6 separate regions of the Homo sapiens genome follow, and regions 1, 2, 3, 4 and 6 are each linked to region 5. Evidence: promoter capture Hi-C in 16 types of primary human blood cells and fetal thymus (Javierre and others, 2016). All regions are on one chromosome and are shown on one strand. Each heading gives the region's core, a stretch centred on a gene start or on the middle of the fragment in contact. The rest is flanking DNA. Distances are from core to core; before and after follow the strand shown. Region 1 has its middle 3.1 kb from the start of ANGEL1. Region 2 has its middle 20 kb from the start of LINC01629. Region 3 has its middle 8.3 kb from the start of CIPC. Region 4 has its middle 13 kb from the start of IRF2BPL. Region 5 holds the start of SPTLC2 (serine palmitoyltransferase long chain base subunit 2). Region 6 has its middle 4.7 kb from the start of LINC02288.

Region 1 (2,853 bases), core at 52-2,551, 800 kb before region 5:
TACCAAAGGCGCTCCCGAGGTCAGGCCCCCTCCTTTGATGTAGCTTAAGTAAAACCCTCCTTGTACCCTCCTTCCATTTTGTACCATGAGTTATCCAGAAGTCCAAGTTCCAAATCAGATCCTAATCAAGGGTAACGGTTCCCTTATCTCCACTGGGAAAATGCTTTCAAAATACAAATTTCTAGGCCCTACTCCCAGAGTTCTGATTTAGCAGCCCTGGAATGAGGCCCTTAAACACTTACTTATTCCAATGCACGGTTTGGGAACCTCTGCTAAAGGATCCAGTCTCAACTGGGCTGTTCAGTGCACAGTGTGGGCACAATGTGTCAGCCCAACTGATCTATGTTCTTTCAGAGGCTTTTTCTGCGGCCAGTTAAGTGAGGCTTCCCTCTTTTTGTTTCCTGGTCCATAATCAGCCGTGTTGGAAGGTGTAGGGTGATATAAGGATCACAAGCTTTGGAGTTAGACCAACTGAGTTGAAATCCTGGCTCTGCCACTTTTTACCTGTGGAATCTCTCAGGTTGCCTAAGCTCTTGGGGCCTCAGTTTCCTCATTGTGCCTGACCCAGTATAAACTCTCAATGTTTACTATTACATTTTTGGATTTGGGCAGAAAAGCAGCTCCAGACGTGGCTGATGTAGGATCTTCTTCCACAATTTCTGGCTAAAATAGAGCTCCTGCCCTCCAAATTGTAATGAGTATTACTAAGCAAGCCAATAACTACAGGTTCCAAGGAGACTTGGCCGAAGGAGTGGAGCCTTAGGCTTCCCCAGTCAGAGGAAAATTACAAGTGCAATCTGCACAGTCTCCAGCCTCATTGTTTCAGAAATATCCCAAGAAGAGAGACGATTCCCTCAATTCATTCCAGCTGTGCTAACAATGAAGACAAGTATGAGCACCTGCATCCATCACTACCATGGTTTCCAGGGTGCAGAACCTATGTAATGGAGCAAGTGGGAGGTTTTGCAATACTTTGAGAGACTTAAGATGCTCTCTTAAAGGGACATTTCCAGTCTATAAGAAATTTAAGCCCTTGAGGGCTAAAATTTTACTTATGACAACAAATATATGTGGAATTCCAACAGAGTGGCTGCATTTATTAACTTATTGGTTGAACATGTGCAAATATTGGGGCGGCATAGTGCTTTCTTCAGGATTACAGAGGCTACGGACCAACGCCTGGGACAGTGCTGCCCAAAAGAAATATGTTGTGAACCACATATGCAATTTAAAATTTTCTAGTAGCCTCATGTAAAAAGTAAAAATAAATCAATTGATAAAGCAAGTGAAATTAATTAATAATATTTTATTTTACCCCATAGATCCAAAAATTTTGTATTTTAACTTGTAATCAATAGTTCAAGATGAGATATTTTATGTTCTTTTTTTGTACTAAGTCTTCAAAATCCAGTGTGTATTTTACTTGGACATCACATCTGAATTTGGACTAGCCGTATTTCAGGTTCTGAATACTGCAAGGAGCTAATAGCTACCGTACTGAACATGGGCTGTTCTGGAGAGTGCAAACAGCTTCTCAGATAGGATAGGCTGAAAAGATTTGCTCATCTTCAACTCTTACGATAACCTGAGGCCTCTACACTCCTAGTAATCTGCCTTCTCTGAGCCTGGTGTTTTCTTTGGGAATCTCAAGATTTATGACTAGGCATTCCCAGAATGTGCCAGATTAGTCTGAATTAATGCATTCATTTGCTCACTTATTCACTGATTCATGCATCCATGTGTTCATTAGAGATTTATCAGGCAGTCATCAATGTTTACCCCAACCTCACCCTTGACTTTCCTTGACCTCCTGCCCACTCCTCGATTCCTTGAAACTTCAGCCCTGGACTCACAGTCTTCTTCCCTACCTCTAGTCCTCCTGTCACCAGTGTGGATGAGCCATCCTAACCCCTGGAAGCTCATTGCCATGACCTCCTTAATGACCTTCATTTCCATGTGCTTCAGACACACCCTTCCCTGGCTGCACCTTGGATATGTCATTACTGGGCACTGTTTCCCGTCTGAAATCATAAATTCACACACCCACTCTGATGGCATGGCTTTCTCATGGCTTTCTGCCTCTCCCACTTCTACTTCATCTTTTCTTTTAACTCCATCAGACCCTTGATTTCTCTAGTCTGTCCTTCTCAAGCTTTCCCTCAGTCATCATTTCTTTCCCTATCCAACATGGAATTCCCATGACCCCTCTTTTAAATCACTCTTCCCAATATCATCAACTCTCCTGCCCACTGTTCTTAGATTATATCTGCGTGGGTCAGTAAAACTATTCTTCTTGGCTCTTACATCTGGGCTGCTGAGCAACAATGAATAAAATTACCAACCCCAAAGATTGAGGCCATTAGTGTGCTAGTCTCCAACCTCTCTTCTGCTCGCAACCCTCCCCAGCAATTCTATGCTCTTTAATTAGCTTTCTCTCCCATTCTCACAATGATTATTCTTCTCAAACTTTCTGCCCTATTGCCTCCCTTCTTGCTCTTAGGAGATTATCTCCCCATCAACTTTAGAGAAAAAAATAGAGCCACCAAGTGTAAATTCTCTACTCCCTGTTGCCACAACAATGCATTGACCAGCATCTCTAACCACCTTTTCCTCTTCTCCCAACACAGCAGTTGGCACTTCCACCATGCTCCGGACCCCCTCCCCCTTCCTCTGAGATGATGTTCCTTCTACTACCCCTCTCCTTTCCTTCACTGACCCCTTGTCATCAACATTTAAGCATGCTCAAGTCACTCCTGTCAAGAAGCCCTCCTTCAGTGCCAGGTCCCCTCCAGCTAGCCCCTGCGTTCCCACCTCTCACAGCCAATCTTCTTGCAAGAGTTGTCTGCAGCTGCT
Region 2 (2,894 bases), core at 367-2,866, 680 kb before region 5:
ATGGACTTTTCCCACAAGGAGGCTTGGAGAACAGGACAGGAAGAGAAAGCGTGCCCACCCTGCTGGGGAGCCTCAGAGGCACACTCCCCTCCTCTCCTCCAGGGACTGGCAGGAGGGGATTACCTTGCCTCAAAGTGTCCCTTATCCCAGAATTACTGCCCACTTTCACCCCTGTGCTGGGGGGAGCAGGGAGAGCTGCCAGTGAGTGACATTCACCTGTAACAAGAGCCCAGAGCAGGCTGGGTGCGGTGGCTCACGCCTGTAATCCCAACACTTTGGGAGGCCGAGGCGGGCAGATCACCTGAGGTCGGGAGTTTGAGACCAACCTGACCAACATGGAGAAACCCCGTCTCTACTATAAATACAAAAAATTAGCAGGGCGTGGTGGCACATGCCTGTAATCCCAGCACTCGGGAGGCTGAGGTAGGAGAATCGCTTGAACCCAGGAGGCGGAGGTTTCAGCGAGCTGAGATCACACCATTGCACTCCAGCCTGGGCAACAAGAGGAAAAACTGTCTCAAAAAATAAAAATAAAAAAATTTAAAAAAAGAAAAAAAAAAAAGAAAAACACCAAGAGCCCAGAGCAGAGCACTCTGCAGCCTGACAGCAACTAAAGTAGGCTGGGGAGGGGTGTGGCCTTCAGGAGGCTCAGGCCCCATCAGTACCCAAAAGCACACCCGCCTTGGGATTGGCCCATCCTGCCAGCACTGGCGACATTGATGGAGTGGTTTCCACGTGTAAATGGTGCCATCTATTCACCAGCTCATGCCCCAGCAGATCCCTCATAGAGAGGGAACTGTTGTCATTCCCATTTTACAGAGGATGCAACTGAAGCTCAGGGAGTGCTGAGAAAACCTCCAGCATTCATACCAATTCTTTTCTAACTGCCCCTGTTCATTCTGTTCATTTTCTCTTTTTTTCTTTCTTTTCTTTTCTTCTTTTTTTTTTTTTTTTTGAGACAGGGTCTCACTGTGTTGCCCAGGCTGGAGTGCAGTGGCACAGTCACAGCTCACTGCAGCCTCGACCTCCCGGGTTTAAGCAATCCTCCCACCTCAGCCTCCCAGGGCACGTGCTAACATGCCCAACTAATTTTTTTAATTTTTGGTAGAGATGAGGTGTCACTATGTTGCCCAGGCTGATCTCGAACTCCTGGGATCAAGTGATCCACCCGCCTCGGCCTTCCAAAGTGCTGGGATTATAGACGTGAGCCACCACACCTGGCCCTTCTTTTATTTTCACACAGGAACTCCTTCCAGGGACCCCCAGTGTGTCCTGATGCACAGCTACGGGTTCCAAGGCAAACCCTTCCTGACCACCCCAACCGTCCCCTGAGCTCCCTGAAGGAAAAGTGAGAGGATGGGCAGCCAAGGCCTGGGCTGGGGACAATGGAGGTCTCATCTGGGTGGTTGAGAAGAAGGAAGGATAACTTGGTGACAGCTGAGTGTTCTCTGAGCCAGGTTTTTTCCATTTTCCAGCCAAAATGGAGAAAGGAGGAAAAGGCAGCCTCTGGGCTGGGGTGGGGAGAAGGAGAGCAGCTTCCTCCTCTTCCTCAGCCCAGCCCCAGCCAGTGTGTCCCATTCTTCCTGGCACCCTCAATCCCCTCTGCCTCCCCTCATGTGGAATTTCTGGGAAAGAACCAAGACTCCAAAGCAAGATAAATAGAAGTGAAGGGGGCTTGGGAGGAGCATTCCAGGGCTAAAAATAACAGGGTCAGCTGGCTGGAAGAGCAAATGGCCCCTAGCCCCTCCCCATCTCCCCCAGGGCCGGCTCCCATCCAGCCCCCCTCCTCTCTCAACTGGGCTCCCAACCTGGGAAGTCTGGAATACCAGTCTCCTATCACCATGCCCATGATCCCCTTTCCAGATCCCTCCCCAGCTGCGGGGCCACAGTCAGGGGAGGTAGGGAGCCCACCCCACCTAGGACCTCCCCTTCCACAGCACCCACTGGAAAGCGTGGGCAGCTACAGTGGGCCCACAGCCTGGCAGCTACGCTTCTCGCCTGCCTTCTCTATCATTTATTTATGTTAACAAAATACAAGTTTGGGCCGCGTGCAGTGGCTCATGCCTGCAATCCCAACACTTTGGGAAGCCAAGACAGGACTGCTTGAGCCCAGGAGTTTGAGACCAGCCTAGGCAACATAGCAAGACCCTGGCTCTACAAAAAATAAAAATAGAAATGATGAGTTAGCAATGTGTGGTGGCGCACCCCTGTGGTCCCAGCTACTTGGGAAGCTGAGGTGAGAGGATCACCTGGGCCCAGGAGATCGAGGCTGCAGTGAGCTATGGTTGCACCACTGCACTCCAGCCTGGGTGACAAAGTGAGACCCCTGTCTCTAAAAAACAAACAAAAAAACAGCCGGGCCTGGTGGCTCACGCCTGTAATTCCAGCACTTTGGGAGGCTGAGGCGGGCAGATCACTTGAGGTCAGGAGTTCAAGACCAGCCTGGCCAACATGGTGAAACCCCATCTTTACTAAACACACACACACACACACACACACACACACACACACACACACACACACACACACACACAATTAGCCGGGCGTGGTGGCGGGCGCCTGTAATCCCAGCTACTCTAGAGGCTGAGGTGGGAGAATTGCTTGAACCCAGGAGGCAGAGGTTGCGGTGAGCCACTGCACTCCAGCCTGGGTGACAGAGTAAGACTCTGTCTCAATTAAAAAAAAAAAAAAGCAAAAAGCAATACAGGCTTGTAATCTTGTCAGCAAAGGCAGGGATATTTCAGAACCAGAAGGATCTCGTTCTCCCTACAAGAGCATCCCCACCACTGGTAAGCAATTCCACTTCTACAGACGGTAACAGAGGGGAGAGTATGGAGAAAAAAGAAAATTCTAGGAGAAAACTCATCCAGCACCTACGGTGTGCCAGAACTGTG
Region 3 (3,058 bases), core at 46-2,545, 530 kb before region 5:
CTGACTTAAACAAGCCCAGCTGGCCAATCCTGTGAAGTGAAACTTGACAAAGGCCCATCCAGACTCCCTGGGGCTGGAGAGAGGAGTACTGGCATATGACATTCTTGGGTATATCTCGGTCTGCAAAGTACAGCCACTATATCTCTACTGACTACTAGGTTTTATAAGATTCTTCATGGAATTCCAAATAGAGTCAGCCATGAGCCAAATCAAACATAAAGGAGGAGGATTCAAGAGCATTCTTGAGTAAATTTCAGAATGGAAAAGACCCTCCAATGACTCAGAGGGGTGGGAGGAACAATGCAGGCTCTGGGATTTCTTTGCCAGAATGACAAGTGTAGAGCAAAACCTGTGGGAGTCACAGTTACTTTCATTCCTCCTTTCCCCAGTGGCCATACACAGGTGTGTGCAAAAGGCCTGGAGGTGGCAGAGAGTGGAGCATGTCAGGGAACTGACAAAAGAATAGGGACGAGCTCCTGTGCACCTGTGCCCACGGAAGCTACTCACTCCCCTCCTTCATGGTGTCTTTTCCTTCTCTGGAGTCCTTTCAGTGATATGTGAGCCCACTGTTAAATGTTCAGGAAGTTTGGGTCCCACTGATAGCAAGTTAGTTGAACATCTACTATGCAGAATTTACTTTGTGGGAGAAAACCATTAAGATATAATCCCAGCCCTTAAGGAGTTTAGACTCCAGTGAGGGAGACAGAGAAGTACGCAAGAAATTACAAAACAAGCCAGTCTAGATCAAGCTACAAGACACAAAGTACTCAATTTTTGTAAATAATTTCTATATGGAGGCTATTCCTAATCTTGGTCTTTGTAGTCAGCTTCCTATTACTGAAGCAACAAGTTCCACTAAAGAGCTCCAATTCCATTGGGCTTTCTGCTGTGGTGGTCTGTGTTCCCTGTCTTTTGTTAATCCCATGCTGGTGAACTCAACTGGGATCCAAAGGCTGTTGACAGAAGGGAGGTAAACCTATGAGGCAAGATATGAAGCCAAGGCAAACCTCCAAGCCAAAAATCAAATGCTTCCACACAAAGGGGCAAGTGAACAGCTTTCTGGGTGGCCTAGAGAGAGAGAAGGTGTGAGTTTAAATCAAAGACTTCAAAGCCGGGCATGGTAGTTTGTGCCTGTAATCCCAGCTACTTGGGAGGTTAAGGCGAGAGGATCATTTGAGGCCAGGAATTCAAGACCAGCCTAGGCAACATAGGAGGGCCCCATCTTTAAAAAATAATTAGCTGGGTGTGGCAGCATGCACCTGTAGTCCCAGCTACTTGCGAGGCTGAGGCAGGAGGATTGCTTGAGCCCAGGTCAAGGCTGCACTATTGCCCAGGTCATGCCACTGCACTCCAGCCTGGGTGACAAAGAGACTCTCATCTCAATAAATAGACGACTTCGTATTTAGTTGGGGAAGGAGTATAGGGGCAAAGAGAAACCTTCCCCTTCGACCTCTGAAAGTTTGCCAAAAAAATCAGCTCACAAAAGAAGATTAGAGAAAGGGCGTACAAATGTATTAATGTGCAAACAGGGAGAACCACAGAGTGCTTACCCCACTGCCCAATGGGGTCCATATAGCCTTATTTCAGGTGGAGGGGGGAGATAGGGAATACAGGTAATTCTGTTGATTGGCAATAAATGGTTGCTAGGGAGAATGAATGGATTGAGGAACAGAGATTAATTTCTAAATGGTTGTCTGAGTGAGTCTGCAAGAGAGACATCATCTTGTGAAAGAGTCTGTTCAGGTGTGGTTACATTCTTGGTCTTTTCTGCAATAGATAATAAGAGGAGGAAGCCAGGCACGGTGGCTCATGCCTGTAATCCCAGCACTTTGGGAGGCTGAGGCAGGCAGATCTCTTGAGGCCAGGAGATTGAGACCAGGCTGGCCAATATGATGAAACCCCGTCTCTACTAAAAATACAAAAATTAGCTAGGTGTGGTGGTGCATGCCTGTAATCCCAGCTACTCAGGGGGCTGAGGCATGAGAATTGCTTGAACCCAGGAAGATGGAGGTTGCAGTGAGCCAAGATCACATCACTGCACTCCAGCCTAAGTGGCAGAGTGAAACTCTGTCTCAAAAAAAAAAAAAAAAAAAAAAAAAAAAAAAAAAAAAATTCAAGGTGGCTCACGCTTGTAATCCTAGCACTTTGGGAGGCTGAGGTAGGTAATCATTTGAGGTCAGGAGTTCAAGACCAGCCTGACCAACATGGTAAAACCCCGTCTTTACTAAAAATACAAAAAACAAAAATTAGCTGGATGTGGCGACACACACCTGTAATATCAGCTACTCGGGAGGCTGAGGCAGAAGAATTGCTTGAACCCAGGAGGCAGAGGTTGCAGTGAGCTGAGATCATGCCACTGCTCTCCAGCCTGGGTGGCAGAGCAAGACAATGTCTCAAAAAATAAACGAAAAGAAAATAGATAATAAGGGGCAGGGGCTGGGAAACAATTGTTCTCCTTGTAGGGTCTATCCAATCTTTATGTAGATAAGGGAAAAGTCTTTTCCAACATCTGTTGATCTCTAAGGGCTTTTAACTCAAAATACTCATTATATCTAGGAGCCATATTTTAGGGTGAAGTTCCTTATGCTCTTTTGGGGGAAATACTTTAAAAGTCTTTCCACTAAAAAGATTCAGGATGAGGGTCTAACAGGTACAAGGCAGCTTCTGAATAGTTTGGGCAGGTATGTGGGTTGAAATCAGCATACAACACACACACACATACACACACACACACTCACACACACACCTCAATTATCTCTATGATGTACAGAGAAAAAGATGACCAGCTGGAGGCATTTTCTGTAGTATGCTTTTACAGTGCCCAGCCCCCATTCGTGGCATCCTCCTTTCCACACAAGTGCCTGTTACCTAATTGTCAACTAAAGAATCATGAATTTCATAAATCTGGAAGGGAGAGCTTTATTTCTCATAAAAGGTTGCAGCCTGCAGGCCCACAGGCTGGGAAGTGTAACCTTCAGAAGAAGCTAAGAGCAATCACTTCAAGGGAAGGCTAAAGCAAACAGAAATTTATGCTTAGCTGCATGGCCAAATATATAAT
Region 4 (3,136 bases), core at 441-2,940, 600 kb before region 5:
GAGTTAATTCCTTCACGTTCACATGGCCCTACATTCCACAGCCGCCTCTCCCAGGGTGCTGGCCATCAGTATTGCCCCCGGCGCCCCCAGCCACGCAAACCTGTTCTCAGATGCACCCAGACCTCCTGGAACTGCAGCTCTGGGGTTCCAAGTGCTCACTCCTCCCCTCAAAAACACCACCCCCAGCTGGCAGGGTCTGTGCTGGTGAAAAGCGAGGTGTGGGGGCAGAGTGAGGGGAGGGTGTGAACTGTCCTTCAGGTGACAAAGAGGAGTGAAGCCAGGCAGGGGTGAGTTATTTACCCCTGTCTCGATTGCCTGTCTATGAAATGGGACCAATAATAGGACCTACTGTGGGGATTTTCCTTTCAAAGGAGAATCATGGCCACGACCAGCCTCAAAGATTTACCATAATGAAGGAGAAGTCATATATGACAGTGCCTGGCCCACTGTCAGTTCCAAAGTCTACAGTCAATAATTTCTCTCCCATGGAGCATGGTGGCTCACGCCTGTAATCCCAGCATATTGGGAGGCCGAGACCGGCTGATTACGTGAGGCCAGGAGTGAGAGACCAGCTTGGCCAACATGTTGAAACCCTGTCTCTACCGAAAATACAAAAATTAGCCAGGCATCGTGGCACTTGCCTGTAATCCCAGCTACTCAGGAGGCTGAGGCAGGAGAATCACTTGAACCCAGGAGATGGAGGCTGCAGTGAGCCAAGAGTGCGTGACTGCACTCCGGGCTAGGTAATAGAGTGAGACTCTGCCTCAAATAATAATAATAATAATGTCTCTCCTTCAGTCTTTTCTTTCAACCACAGCATCCCTGTCTGTGACCTAGGAGTACAATTCTGACAGCCTCCACGAGCTGCTGTGGCTGGTGGGAGAGGGAGGGGAATGAGGCTATTGGTAAGGAAGGCTCTGGACGCTGTTGGGATAGCTGGCCTCCATAGACACTGCCCCACTTCTTCCCCCAAGTCCTTCCAGAGAATGTCCAGTCATCCAGGGGCTGCTCAGGGCACCCAGCTAAACACAGGGATGTGAATGCCCTGGATGTGGGCCTGTGGGCCAAAGATACACACAAACACACACACACACACACTCACTCACTCACACTCCTTGCCCAGAAGCCTAGGATGCACCAGAACCAATCCTTGGCTGTGGGGGCAGGGGGCATCTTGCTGACTTTCCATCAGCCCCCAGACCCAGATTGGGGCTCTGTCTGACCCAAGCCCAGTTCCTTGTCCTGGACCTTTCCGCTTTTCCTGGCTTGTCCTAAGATCTGCCCTCAGGAGACATATATTATAGATCTAAGCTTCTCTGTGCTTTTAATACTGCTGAACATGTACACGAAATAACTGCCCACAGTGCAGGGGAACTGGAGATTTGGAATGAGAAGGAGACCGACTTACTTTTCTCTGAGTATCTTCTCAGGCTCTTTGATTTTTTTTTCTTTTACCATGTGTATCTAATACCTTTTTTAAAATTAAAATACTCCTGGGGCCAGGCACGATAGCTTGCGCCTATATAATCCCAGCACTTTGGGAGGCTGAGACTGGCAGATCACTTGAGGTCAAGAGTCCGAGACCAGCCTAGCCAACATAGTGAAACCCTGTCTCTACTAAAAATACAAAAAATTAGCCGGGCGTGGTGGTGCACACCTGTAGTCCCAGCTAATCGGGAGGCTGAGGCAGGAGAATCACTTGAACCTGGGAGGCGGAGGTTGCAGTGAGCCAGGATTGTGCCACTGCCCAGCCTGGGCAACAGAACAAGACTCTGTTTTGAAATAAATACATAAATAAACAAACTCCTGGGATGGCGAAATGGTGGATGATGGCTTTGATTGTTGTTCTAAGAAATTTGGACTTACCCTGTAGGCAACAGGGAGCCAAGGGAGGTTTCTAAGCAAGGGTGTGACTTGCTCAGATGTAGAAAAAAAATGGATTCTGCTACAAAGCCATGGCCTGAAGTGGGCAGACACCAGAGCTTACGGGAGACCAGTCAGGAGTTGGGACACTTCTCTCGAGTCTAACCTAAACCTGGGAGCCACAATTATAGTTCCCATGTAGAGAGGTAAGCTTTCCTGGATCCAGCACCCCAGACCTGGTGGATGCACACCTGTGACCCCCAAAGAGGCAGGACAATCAAGCTACGCCCAAGAGGTAACTGACCAGCATTTCAGCCTGAAGAAAACAAAACTGAGGCCAGGCACGGTGGCTCACGCCTGTAATCCCAGCACTTTGGGAGGCCGAGGCAGGCGTATCACCTGAGGTCAGGAGTTCAAGACCAGCCTGACCAACACGGAGAAACCCCGTCTCTACTAAAAATACAAAAATTAGCCAGGCATGATGGTGTGTGCCTGTAATCCCAGCTAGTTGGAAGGCTGAGGCAGGAGACTTGCTTGAACCCAGCAGGCGGAGGTTGCAGTGAGCCGAGATTGCACCATTGCACTCCAGCCTGGGCAACAAGAGTGAAACTCTGTCTCAAAAAAAAGCAAGACTGGGAGGGAAGACACCAGCTAGTGGGGTAGATACTCCCCACAGAAGCAATATACCTTACAAATCAGGGCCACTGCCTGTTTCCTGTCATCTCTCTGTTCCATCAAAAATGAGACAGAGGTAAGCTCATTTTTAAATTAAGTTTGAGGGTAGGAGGCAACTGAGGACGACTTCAGAAGAACAGCCCTGCTCCAGAATCCCTGATTGGAAATACTGCTTGGACAGCTCCACTGTGTTCCCTCAGAACATAGAACCTAGGACGGGTGCGGTAGCTCACGCCTGTGATCCCAGCACTTTGGGAGGCTGAGGTGGGCAGATCACTTGAGGTCAGGAGTTAGAGACCAGCCTGGCCAACATGGAGAAATCCCATCTCTACTAAAAGTACAAAAATTAGCTGGGCGTGGTTGCAGGCGTCTGTAATCCCAGCTACTCGGGAGGCTGAGGCAGGAGAGTCGCTTGAATCCTGGAGGCAGAGGTTGCAGTGAGCTGAGATCACGCCACTGCACTCCAGCCTGGGCAACAGAGACTCTATCTCTAAAAATATATATATAATAATAATAATAAAATAAAAATAATTAAAGATGAACATAGAACCTAGAAAGTGTTCTCCCCAAGGGGCTTCCTGACAGCCCTGCCTGTAGA
Region 5 (3,022 bases), core at 371-2,870:
AAATTCACCTGCAAATGTATTTTCTAACTCCTACCCGTTAAATTTCCCTATTACATTCTATACCACAACAATTTTGTCTTATAAGTCGTTTACATTGCTAGGAAAACGACAAACTATTCCACTGCTTATAATGAGCTGACTGTTATCACTTCCTCCCTCACACAATTATTTCTTTAAAAGTGAAAACAAATCTTTTGATCTGTGTATTACTTCGCTTTGACACCTTACAACTTCAGGGGAGGTCAAGTCTGCTTTACTTATTTTTCCCCTCAACTCAGTCTCAATATCTCAACATGACCTGGAAAAATGCTTTATTTTCTGCTTCGCAGCAAACAGTAACAGACCTATCCATCATAACTACTCATCTGGGGAGTAGTTATGTTAAAGCCAAATTAAGATCACCATCCTATCAAACTGCAACAGTCACACTCCCGCTAAAGGGAAACAGAGTACTTTCTAAGCGTTCCTTAATATCTGTACAAGACTTAAACGTATTAAAGTCAACTGCAAAATTATCGCAACACTCTCTTCCAGGAACACCGATCTTGCATCTTTTTAACCAGCTCATCTTTAAAAACACATTTCAACAGAATATCTGTCAGTCCAGACCACTGTAAGGTTGATAATAAGCATTGTCTTGAATTTAGAACTTTTCAAAATATTTTAGAACTGCCTGAACTTGGTTGATGATTCAGCATGGTTAATTAGTATAGAGTCATCGCAAGTCACCACCAGGCTAAACAATCCCCTTGTGTGATAGCACTCGTGTTCAGGAAAGGGTCGAAGGGGCCACCTAATCCAACCTGGAGCCTGGGGTAGAGTCTCACCACCGGCAGAGTTAAGAGAATGATGCTTTCGAGGGACCAGCTTGGATTCCCTGCCAGATCTATGGACCAATGTCCTGGTTGGGGACTGAACGTGGTAGTCCAGAATGTGGTTGGGAGAGGCTGGGTGTGTTTCCATCTGACACCACCGCCTAATTTTCTTTGCTTCTTAAGGACCCCATGGGTGGTTTTCTTTGGACGACTGCAGGACTTTAAAAGGAAGCAATAACCTCAGGGGTTTGAGAAGGGACCCTCCGGAGCCCTTGGGCGGCTCCCACTGGAGTCCGAAGGGCCCCTCATCGCTTCCCCTGGGGACAGCACACACTTCTGGCAGAATGGGGCAGAGAAAAGTACCCGGAGCTCTGAGCAGAACCCAGAGCTCCGGGAGTAAGACCTCCAGGCGCGGAGAGGTGGGGAGCCCCCGAGCCGTCCTTGAGCCTCCAGGCTCGTGGAGGTCGGGCCAGCGGCCGGACACTGCCGCCCACACCTGCGAACGGCGCCCGCCCCGCGGATTGCCCAGCGGATGGCCCGGAGACCTCGCCCCGCCCGGCCGCCCCTCCGCCAGTCCACACCGCCACCCCGGCCCCGCCGCGCGGGCCCCTCGTACCTGGCCGGCGGCGGCTGCGGCTGCGGCTGCAGCGCTGCTCCTCACGTACCCGTTCCGTACTTCCCCGTTCGCCACGCAGCCATTCGCCCGCACCGTGCGGCGGCAGCAGCAGCCTCCGGGCTCCGGCCGCATCTTCCTGGCAGCACCAGGCGCAAGGCAGGCTCTGTAGGCGGTGGCAGCGGCGGCGGCTGCTCCAAGTCCCGCTCCGCACCCCACCCACCTCCCCGAAACCGGAAATGGCTGCAGCGCCGCCGCCAATTCCCGGGCGGGCCTTCACAGAGGGCGGGGCCCTCTCCGCAGAGGACCGGTCTCGGCCAAGGCCACGCAGCGAAGGGAAAAAGCGGCGGGGACCTGCCGAGAGGGATGTGGTCCTGAGGACCGCTGACCAATCTGGAAGAGAAGGAGGCGGACCCCATGCTGCTGCCTGGCCAATCACGGACGAGAGCAAAGCGCCTCGCCGGTGGAGAGGGGGCTTCTCTAGAGGGACTCCAGGGCCTGGCACCTGATTGGAGGCCGCATCCAGGTCCGGGGTAGGGCTTGCCTGTTTAATGGTCCAGACCGAGGAGGAGGCGGAGCCCAGGGAAAAGTAGCCAATTAGAGTGTGAGGAAATAAAAGGGGCTGAGCCGAAGTCTCTAGAGCGGGTTCCCAGGTTCTCCAGGACAGGTGGCGCCCTCTTTGCCCTTGCCTCGTGGGAAGTTTTGGAGTTTATGTCCTAGCCCAAGACAGGCAGCTCGCTTATTTAATTAGCTGATTCCTCTGTGAGTGTTTATAGAATAGATTTTTTGACAATCTCTCATCATTCTTCAATATGCGCCACACATTCACTATTTCTGAATTATTATAAGTAATAATTCAGATGCCTTTTCACGTGCCCTTCACATTTGCCCTTGGCAGGGTTTTCTATACAGTCTCCTTTAAATTAAGTCTTTCCTTCAAAGTTAGAAAACCTGGTCTAATTCCAACTCTGCCAATAACTGGAAGCTAAAACTTGAGCACTGTGTTTAACCACTTTAGAAGCCAAATTCTTTAAAATGGAGTTAATACTTCCTGCTTCATAGACTTACAGCAAGAATTATATCATTAACCCATTATGCACCTCTTATAATACTAGGCTTATAGTAGGAGTATAATAAATATTATTTTCTCACCCTTTTAGTTCCATCTTCCCATGGGGTTAGAAAGCAAGGAAATTGATCTACATTACAATTAGAGACTTTCTGTTATCCATAAAGAATTTAGTATCATAATTGAGAGTATGGACTCTGGAGTCGGTCTGGGTTTTAAATCCTAGCTGCGCCACTTACTAGCTGAGTGACCTCTATGTGTCTTCATCTGTTCAGTGGGGACAATAATAGTTGTCGTGAAGATTGAATAAGTTTATGTATGTAATGTATTTTGTACAGGACCTAGCAATTAGTAAGCATTCATTAAGTGTTGGTTACTAGTAATTGCTAAATGCACCTATGAGAATCCGTGCATTCTTTCCCCACCCTGCAGGAGCTTTAGAAAGGAGGTCCACAAGGTATTGGTTTTGCATGACTTAGGAGCTGAATAATCTAACAGAAGGTGGGATCATTCATCCCACACATC
Region 6 (3,205 bases), core at 639-3,138, 580 kb before region 5:
CTGCAAGAAATTAAAACCTCTCTCCCCATTGGAGTTTACAGGTTCATGTCCCAGTAGATGCAAGGTTATACATAAATTAGCACAGGTTATTTTGGAGTTAAAATCACTATCCAGCTTTGAAGCAAAATTGAGTAGTTATGCTTTCCTGGCATCCTGTAAAACCATTCTCTTTCTTCCTGCCTTTTTTTTTCTTTTACTTTCTTTCTTTTTCTTTTTTTTTTTTTTTTTTGGAGAAAGTCTCACTTCAGTTGCCCAGGCTGAGTGCCGTGGTGCCATCTCAGCCCATACAGCCTCAACCTCCCTGGCTCAGATGATTCTCCCACCTCAGCCTCCCAAGTAGATGGGACTACAGGTGTGTGCCATCACGCCTAGCTCATTTTTTATTTTTAGTATTAAAAAAAAAGAGAGAGATGGGATTTTGCCATGTTGCCCAGGCTGGTCTCAAACTCCTGGACTCCAGTAATCCACCTGCTTGGGCCTCCCAAAGTGCTAAGATTACAGGCGTGAGCAACTGCGCTCAGCCCCTGCCAAAACAAAAACAAAAACATGTTATTTATTTATTTTGAGACAGGGTCTCACCCATGCTGGAGTGCAGTGGTACGATCTCTCACCTCAGCCTTAGGAGTAGCTGGGACTACAGGCATGCACCACCCCATACCTAGCTTAGTTTTTTATTTTTTGTAGACACGGGGATCTCACTATGTTGCCCAGGCCTGTCTCTTCTGGGCTCAGGCAGTTCTCTCACCTCAGCCTCCCAAAGTACAGGGATTACCACCGCATCTGGTCTCTTCCTGCCTTTTCTATACCCCGGTCCTTGGCAGAGGTGATGGAGGAAAATCTGAAGTTCTAGAACTCACTGAAGCATTTAGGAATTTACTGAGATACCCTTACCAAGGACAGCAGCATTTTCATTGTGCACTCTTGAGAAAGACCCCAGGCTGAACAATAAACAAGGAGGAAAATGAAGAGAGTGCATTTTATAGTGGAAGGAGCCTCTTCTCATACCCAAAAGTCATATCACATAAGTAACGTGCGCCACCTTATACGGGTCACACCAGCTGTATAGACACTCACCCAACATGTACTGTCCTGTCCTTAGGCTAGGGGCCACATGATTGTGGCAGGCTACAGTCCTCAAAGCACTTCTGGCCACCAGGTGCAGTGCAGTTGTGCACACCTGTAGTGCCAGCTACTTGGGAGGCTGAGGTGGGAGGATCACTTGAGCCCAGGAGTAGTTCAAGACTGCAGTGAACTATGATCACACCACTGCATTCCACTATTCCACCCTGGGTGACAGAGCAAGACCTTTTTTTTTGAGATGGAGTCTCACTCTACGCCCAGGCTGGAGTGCAGTGGCGCAATCTCGGCTCACTGCAACCTCCACCTCCTGGGTTCAAGCGATTCTCCTGTCTCGGCCTCCCAAGTAGCTGGGATTACAGGTGCCTGCCACCATGCCTGGCTAATTTTTGTATATATTGTTTCATGGGGTTTCACCATGTTTGCCAGGCTGGTCTCGAACTCCAGACCTCAGGTAATCTACCTCAGCCTCCCAAAGTGCTGAGATTACAGGTGTGAGCCACCGCACCCAGCCTTCATCTCTTAAGAGAAAAAAAAAAAAGCACTTCTAGCCAAGGGTAGGTGTATAGCTCTGACATCAAATCTGGCCTAGGCATCACTGGAGCAAGAAAGCCCGGAAACAAAGTGACCCCTCCAACACATGTAGAGGACCACCATACTTTAACCTGAACTCCCCTCTCTGGCCGTACACAGAAGAGTAAGCTTGATAGGTTCCTGGTGTGAAACTATTCTCAGTACTTACATTTTGTTTCGAAGCTGAAACTTGGCTACCAGATGGCCTGGTGGGTTTCTGTTCCCCAACTCCCTAACCAGTGCCCTTCCATTTACCATTCATTCAGTTATTCAACTATTTATTTAGGGAACACTTTCTATCTCAGTGCTGGATGAACCAAGCCAGACTGGCTGTAGCCCAGAATCTAGAAGCTTCCATTTCCTCCTAGGTGTCCTACTTTCCTGATGCAATAGCCCAAAAGTCATAAGAGGCAGAGCTTTTTCAATACTCCCACCAGCCACATGACTGACTTAGAGCAATCTATTTATTCTCTCTGGGACTCCATTTCTTCACCTGTCAAAGGTTGATATTAAAACCTGTTCTCCCTACTTCAGGGGTTTGCTATGAAATTCTGTATGTTAATGCCTAGGGCTGTAGAAAGGCGAGACACTGTGACAAATCTTTTTTCCAGCGCTAAGCCCTTCGAGGTAAAATGGGTGGAAAGCCAGGCCTGCCGCTAAGCCCTGTCCACTCTCTTCATCTTGCCCTTGGAGGGCCTCCTCCTGGGGGGCCAATCTAGCATGTCCATGTCCTTCTGGGCTGGCAGACAAACAAGCAATGACAAGCTTTAGGCCTAAAAGCTGGAGAAAGACAATAGCAAGGTTAGGCTGTTTGTTTCTCATCTCTCCTAGAGAGACAAGGATATCCCCTCCCCAAATCCCTGGTGGTGGCAGTGAAGCTCGGAGCAGTTGGATTTATTTAGGGCTTTTACTTTTTTTTTTTGTTTTGGCCAATTTGGAAAGAAAAGAGGCAATGACCTCTTCTTTAAAAAACAAAACTAGGCAGGAAGTGTACTGGGCCTGAGTGGCAGGGACTAAGGGTGTAATTACAGGTTTTTGTTCAGCATTTTCGAGTAATTAAATCCAAAGGAAAGCGAGCCTAGCCGAGGCTTCTTGGATGCAGGGCAGAGAAGAGCTGTGTGTATGTGTGTGTTTTGTGTGTGTTGGGATGGGGAGGAGAGGCAGGAGGTGAGAAATGGATTTGCTTTTCAGGCTGAGAAGAAGCGGGCTTCTCGCCTTTATTAATATTTTTACATTGCTTTTTCCAAAAGGTAGCCGATTATTCATCTTTTATTCGGTGCCACTGCCCTCTCCTTGGTGACATTTTCAGCGTGCACAGCTTTCTAGGCACTGATTTTCCTTCACGCCAACTCTCCCCCTCCCCACTTTTTCATATTCCCGCTTTCTGCCTGGTTGCCCACACAATAAACCCACTGCAAAATCCGCAGCCAGCTTTCTTGCCTACAGCTTCCATCCCAGCGACCTCCGACGCTGAACAATAGTCTCTCCTTTTGTTTTAAACATCTTCTGGCTTTCCTTGTTCCGCTTTAAAATACTTCTTACCACCACCATCCCT

What was found. The method cuts DNA at HindIII sites, captures the fragments that hold promoters and counts their contacts. A CHiCAGO score of 5 or more calls a contact.
Region 1: a fragment that was not itself captured here is called in contact with the fragment with the promoter of SPTLC2 in region 5 in 1 of 17 cell types (naive CD8 T cells); the score reaches 5.8 in naive CD8 T cells.
Region 2: a fragment that was not itself captured here is called in contact with the fragment with the promoter of SPTLC2 in region 5 in 2 of 17 cell types (activated CD4 T cells and neutrophils); the score reaches 5.1 in activated CD4 T cells.
Region 3: a fragment that was not itself captured here is called in contact with the fragment with the promoter of SPTLC2 in region 5 in 1 of 17 cell types (neutrophils); the score reaches 7.1 in neutrophils.
Region 4: a fragment that was not itself captured here is called in contact with the fragment with the promoter of SPTLC2 in region 5 in 1 of 17 cell types (naive CD8 T cells); the score reaches 5.8 in naive CD8 T cells.
Region 6: a fragment that was not itself captured here is called in contact with the fragment with the promoter of SPTLC2 in region 5 in 2 of 17 cell types (activated CD4 T cells and naive CD8 T cells); the score reaches 5.1 in activated CD4 T cells.

Annotation. Positions count from the first base shown.
Region 1 is chr14:76,814,603-76,817,455 of GRCh38, forward strand. No RefSeq gene overlaps it. Among named protein-coding and RNA genes, the nearest start is that of ANGEL1, 3.1 kb to the left of the region's middle. The HindIII fragment of the contact is 1,698 bases long and covers 453-2,150 here.
Region 2 is chr14:76,938,537-76,941,430 of GRCh38, forward strand. No RefSeq gene overlaps it. Among named protein-coding and RNA genes, the nearest start is that of LINC01629, 20 kb to the right of the region's middle. RefSeq lists an enhancer at 1,403-1,903. The HindIII fragment of the contact is 5,193 bases long and covers 1-2,894 here.
Region 3 is chr14:77,088,454-77,091,511 of GRCh38, forward strand. No RefSeq gene overlaps it. Among named protein-coding and RNA genes, the nearest start is that of CIPC, 8.3 kb to the right of the region's middle. The HindIII fragment of the contact is 8,703 bases long and covers 1-3,058 here.
Region 4 is chr14:77,014,411-77,017,546 of GRCh38, forward strand. No RefSeq gene overlaps it. Among named protein-coding and RNA genes, the nearest start is that of IRF2BPL, 13 kb to the right of the region's middle. RefSeq lists an enhancer at 1-632. The HindIII fragment of the contact is 763 bases long and covers 1,310-2,072 here.
Region 5 is chr14:77,615,017-77,618,038 of GRCh38, forward strand. It overlaps SPTLC2 (serine palmitoyltransferase long chain base subunit 2), which reads right to left and starts at 1,621. Exons shown (of 12, transcript NM_004863.4): 1 at 1,432-1,621. The coding sequence starts at 1,563. RefSeq lists enhancers at 878-1,087, 1,416-1,948 and silencers at 1,268-1,467, 1,608-1,657, 1,988-2,047. The HindIII fragment of the contact is 6,254 bases long and covers 1-3,022 here.
Region 6 is chr14:77,034,741-77,037,945 of GRCh38, forward strand. No RefSeq gene overlaps it. Among named protein-coding and RNA genes, the nearest start is that of LINC02288, 4.7 kb to the right of the region's middle. The HindIII fragment of the contact is 222 bases long and covers 1,778-1,999 here.